Regions from separate parts of the Homo sapiens genome. Here region 1 is linked to region 2. Evidence: promoter capture Hi-C in 16 types of primary human blood cells and fetal thymus (Javierre and others, 2016). All regions are on one chromosome and are shown on one strand. The core of a region is centred on a gene start or on the middle of the fragment in contact, and the rest is flanking DNA. Distances in the headings are between cores, read along the strand shown. Region 1 overlaps MAD2L1-DT (MAD2L1 divergent transcript). Region 2 holds the start of NUDT6 (nudix hydrolase 6).

Region 1 (2,700 bases), core at 95-2,594, 2.8 Mb before region 2:
CACAGTGAAACCCTGTAAAAAAAAAAAAAATACAAAAAATTAGCCGGGTGTGGTGGCGGGCACCTGTAGTCCCAGCTACTCAGGAGGCTGAGGCAGGAGAATGGCATGAACCCGGGAGCTGGAGCTTGCAGTGAGCTGAGATCGTGCCACTGCATTCCAACCTGGGTGACAGAGCGAGACTCCATCTCAAAAAAAAAAAAAAGTTTATTCAAACGTGCTCCTTCCATAACATGAGTGTCTTTTGAAAAACGGAATGGAAGAATGTTAATTTTTCTGAAGTTCTTGTTAGCACAGTACTGCAAAGAGAAAGAGCCAGTAAATCTGGCACAGCTGACTTGCATTTCCTCAGGGTACCAATCATGGCCTATGACTCCCTTTTTTTTCTAAATTTTTAAAACTGACAAATAATAATTGTACATATTTACAGGGTGCATAGTGATGTTGTGGTCTATACAATGTATAGTGATCAGATCAGGGTAATCAGCCTATCTATCATCTTAAACATTTATAATTTCTTTGTGTTTCAAACATTCAATATCCCCATTCTAGCTATTTTAAACTATTATTAACTTGTAGGATGTAGTCATCCTACAAGTGCTGTAGAACACTAGAACTTACTCTTATCTAGCTGTAATTTTGTTTCCTTTAACAAATCTCTCTGTCCTCTCTTTCCGCCTACCCTTCCCAGCCTCTAGTATTCTCTGTTGTACTTTTTACTTCTGTGGGATCAACTTTTTTAACTTCCACATATGAGTAAGAACGTGACCTTCTGACATGGAGACTGTGTGAGTGTGCAATGTCAGTCCATTTTTTGAAATCCATTTTTTTAGTAAAGCTTATTTTCCTAGGTTAAAACATAAATTAAATAGAAGTTGTAACATTCCTTCCTATACTCCCAAAAGGATTGTTTTTTGCATATATTCCACTTTGGAAGCCACTGATTTTGAGGATGTTTGCAGAAACCTTATTGATTAGGGGATGAGGCACCTGAGTTGGGAATAGTAGTGTTCCGTGCTTGTCCTCTCTTCTAGGTAAATATGGAATAGACCTAGTTAGGATGGCTGACCTGCATGCCTATGTGGAAATTTGAAGTATCATTCTTTTTTTTTTTTTTTTTTTTCTGAGACAGAGTCTTGCTCTTTCACCCAGGCTGGAGCGTGGTGGCACCATCTCAGCTCACTGCAATCATCGCCTCTCAGGTTCAAGTGATCCTTATTCCTCAGCCTCCTGTGTAGCTGGGATTACATGCATGCACCATCACACCCAGCTAATTGTTGTATTTTTTAGTGGAGACAAGGTTTCGATGGTCTTGCACTCCTGGCCTCAAGTGATTCACCCACCTTGACCTCCCAAAGTGCTGGGATTACAAGTGTGAGCCGCCATGCCCGGCGTGAGCTATCATTCTTTATAATGGACTTTGCAGAACAATCCTGTAAGGAAAATACATTCTTATTGGGAAGGAGTGCTCCAGACTCTTGAACCCCATCTATTTACCACTGCCCAAAGCACAGAATAAAAGCCATCTTAGGGGTTTCAACAAATCCTGTCATAAAAGTCCACTTAGATCACATAAAAAAAAAAAACTTTATTACTGGTTGCATAATGAGGGAGTGTCATGGTCTTGTCTAAAAGAAGCAGGAATCTCCAAGCAATCTACCAACAGCAGAGATCACATGCAGATATGTCAAAAAAAGATGTTAGCCTAGCATGTTCCAGAGAAACTTCTTAGAAGCAGACTATCTGGACAATTTAAGAAGAATTATATAGGAGTTATTTTCCTTATCGGTAAAATGGATGTAACAATAGTACTTGTCACATATAATTTTTCTGAGTATTACATGAGATAATTTAAATGAAGCTTTGGCTTAATGCTAATATGTTATTGTTATTGTTTTATTATTATATTGTTACTGTTGTTGTTAATAAGACAGCTTTTCACCACTTTTCCACGCACCTTTCCTGGGTTGGTACATGTTTAGTTTAGCATAACTAAAGGAGGCTTTAGATAATACAACTTAAGGCACAGATGAGATAGAAACTCTTATAACATATATAATAATGATAGCCAACATTATTAACCACATACTATCTGCCAGGCACATTTCTATGTGCTTTACAAGAATCATTTTATTTAATCCCTCATTAGCTCAAGAGTTAGATACTACTATTACCTGAATTAAGTTACAGAAGGAAGTTGAATAATTTAGCTAAGGTCACCCAGCTAGGAGAACTGGAGTCAAATCCAAGCAATCTAGATGGTACCAGAATATGAATCCTGAAAGCATCAAAGATCTGACTATATTTTAGATAACTCTAATTTGAGGCAAACTATAGTGGGTCCTTAATATTCCTCCATCCTTGCTATGTAACTCCTGAGACCCATTCAGCAATGGAAACCAATGGAGCTGAATGGCTGGAAAGTCACAGAATTGGAACAAGGAAAATAATCCAAAAGTGGAAGAAAAGAGTCCAAAACTGGAGGAAAAGAAACAAGAGGTAGGATCCAGGGTGCAATACTGGCTCATCTGGCTAAGAGTGGATGGCCAAAAGGGGTACCCTGACTAGGGCTGCAAAAACAGGAATTTTTTAAAAATTTTGTGCTTAAAAGATCTTGTCAATTTTCTACTTAAAAGATCTTCAGTGAACTAAGAGGAGGCATTAAACAAATATTCTGGCCAAGGGATAGAATGGCATTTGAAA
Region 2 (2,700 bases), core at 39-2,538:
TTCAATAAAGATTCAGGCTGGGTGCAGTGGCTCCTGCCTGTAATCCCAGCACTTTGAGGGGCCAAGGCGGGAGAATCAGTTGAGCCCGGGAGACTGAGACCAGCCTGGGCAACACAGTGAGACACCGTTTCTAGAAAAAATAGAAAAAAGCCAGATGCGCGCCTGTAGTCCTAGCTACCCAGGAGGCTGAGGTGGGAGGATTGCTTGAGCTCAGGGGTTGGAGGCTGCAGTGAACCCTGATCCTACCACTGCACTCTAGCCTGGGAGACAGAATGATACCCTCTCTCAAAAAAAAAAAAAAAAAAAAAAACAAACTGTACATTTAAAAATAACTAAGAGTAACTGGATTATGGTTGAATGCTTGTGGTGATGAGTATCTCATTTACCCTGATGTAATTATTACACATTTATACCTCTATCAAAATAGCTCATATACCCCATAAACATACACACCTACTATGGACCCACAAAAATTAAAAATAAAAAAGAAAAGCCTCTTTGGTCCACTCAGTCCACCACCCGTATTAGAATGTAAGAGTTTTTTTCCTTGGGAAAAGTGTCCGACAGAACCAAGGCTCGGTAAAGGATACTAATAATGTAATAATATAATATTAACAAACATCTACTGAGCTTTAAATACGTGGCAGGCACTGTGCTGTGCACTTTATGTGCATTATCCAAATTAACTCTCAGTAATTCCAGGAGTTCTTATCACCGGGGTCTGTGGAAGAGGAAATGGTGGTTTACGGCAATTTCCGAATGTCGCACAGTAGAAAGTGGACCAGCAACCAGGGTTGCAGATCCCAAAGTCCGGGATCTTCACCATTTCACCCAACCGCCTTAGAGACCTCCCAGCAAAAGGTCTAAGCACGAATGCTCCAGAAAACAGGTCCAGGTCACGCGTGCCTTCTCCCTTTCCCTCTGGGCTCGACAGTGGTGCACAGAGCGACTAGGGAGTGGGGGCCGCGGTTATTTCATTAGAAAAGCTCTGGAGCCCCGGGAGCCCTTCGTCCCAGGCGCACTTGCCCTGCAAGCCCTTCTGGAAGGCGGCAGCGTCCAGGCGGTCCAGCGCATCGAGCCGCGCCAGGCGCACCGAGATGCCCCCGAATCTGTCCAGCTCGCCCTGCAGATCGCACGCTCCAACTGGCGGATTCCGCACGTAACCCTGTGCGCCCGAGGCCCAGCGGTAACCCGCCGAAGGCCCGGGGCCGTAGGTTCGGGCAAGCATCGCGCGCCAGCGGCCCCAGCTCAGTGGCTGCCGCATCTCCACGCCGCTTAATTCGTCCGTTGCCCAAATGACCCCTCCGCGCTCCAGAGCGGAGATCGCGGCCGTACATTTTAGAAGAGTGCCATCAATACCCTCAGAGTTGAGCTGGGGTTACCACTCTGCAGAGCTATGCCAAGGAGACCGCGAAGTGGTCCACCAGCCCTTCTCAGCAATTTGCCCCGCTCCAGTTAAGCGGGGAAAACCTCCTCCCCCACCGCCACTCACTTATTTTGTTTGGTAGTTTAATTCAACAGACGTTGGTTTAGGGATGGGGAAGCCGGGAGGAGATGCAAAAACGTCCTGTTTTTCAGGAATTTACAATCTAAGTGGCAGTTCCGTTCCTGGAACCTATCTTCTTTCACAGATGCCGTTACAGCTGTTTCAAAGACTGCTGGTTTTGAAAACGCTCAGTCCCTCCCACCACGCTGTGCACTGCTGCGCTCCACTCAGGGGATTACGGCGCAGGGGCGGACCCTCGCTGACTTCTGCCCCGGAAGTTTTTCTCTCAGTTGAAGCGCGCACATTGAGTCGGCTTTTCTACTGCTTCGGCTAGGGTACCTTGTGACCATGTCTTCCAAGAAGAATAGAAAGCGGTTGAACCAAAGCGCGGAAAATGGTTCGTCCTTGCCCTCTGCTGCTTCCTCTTGTGCGGAGGCACGGGCTCCTTCTGCTGGATCAGACTTCGCGGCAACCTCCGGGACTCTGACGGTGACCAACTTATTAGAAAAGGGTAAAGAATTCCGGGTGGGAGACTAGAGGCCGAGGGGGCGCAACCTGAGGGGCGGGAGACTCAGTGATACTGACTTGGGGTGCAGAGACTTTTGAAAGTTGGGCGTGGCATGGGTCTGAGAGCGGCACAGAAGCGTGTAAGACTTCTGTATGTAAGAAGCATGCAAACGTAGCCGCGCCTGCACTGGAGAAGTTAGGCTGAAATGGTTTATCCGTGTCCAAGGTTTCTCTTTTGTAAATTATTTTGAATTTTTAAGTTGCACTTGAAACGCTTTGTCTCATTTAACATTAACGACACATTTAATTGCAAAATTGTTCATAACTAGCGAACATGGGATACTTATCCTAAAAAACTAAATAACCAATTCAGTAAAAATGTGGATCACTCTGCCTTTAGGAGTGATGATAGCATTTTCTTCCAGTACTACGCAGGTTATGATATTTAATAACTGCTAGTAACTGCACACTAGTGTTAGCAGTATATATAGCTCATCTAATTTCTACAGAAGCCGTGACCGATGGGTATAGTAATGACAGTTTTATAGAGGGAGGAAAGTTAACGTGATTCCATTCAGGCTACACAGGTGCTAAGTGGCAGAGCCGATATTTGAGTCCAGATGTGTTTGACTTAAAAGCCATTCCTAGATGACAGCTCCTTTGATTTGGGAGAACGTATTTATACTGAAAAGTCTTATAAATTGAAT

What was found. Contacts are between HindIII fragments. The CHiCAGO score rates a contact against its expected background, and 5 or more counts as called.
Region 1: a contact is called between a fragment that was not itself captured here and the fragment with the promoter of NUDT6 in region 2, in 2 of 17 cell types (total CD4 T cells and non-activated CD4 T cells). The highest score is 7.1, in total CD4 T cells.

Annotation. Positions count from the first base shown.
Region 1 is chr4:120,075,626-120,078,325 of GRCh38, forward strand. All of the region lies in intron 1 of MAD2L1-DT (MAD2L1 divergent transcript), which reads left to right. Among named protein-coding and RNA genes, the nearest start is that of MAD2L1-DT, 10 kb to the left of the region's middle. The HindIII fragment of the contact is 1,023 bases long and covers 834-1,856 here.
Region 2 is chr4:122,921,309-122,924,008 of GRCh38, forward strand. It overlaps NUDT6 (nudix hydrolase 6), which reads right to left and starts at 1,289. Exons shown (of 5, transcript NM_007083.5): 1 at 1,027-1,289. The coding sequence starts at 1,264. AFG2A (AAA ATPase AFG2A) reads left to right here and starts at 1,770. Exons shown (of 16, transcript NM_145207.3): 1 at 1,770-1,997. The coding sequence starts at 1,835. RefSeq lists enhancers at 1,433-1,969, 1,762-2,131. The HindIII fragment of the contact is 3,202 bases long and covers 1-2,700 here.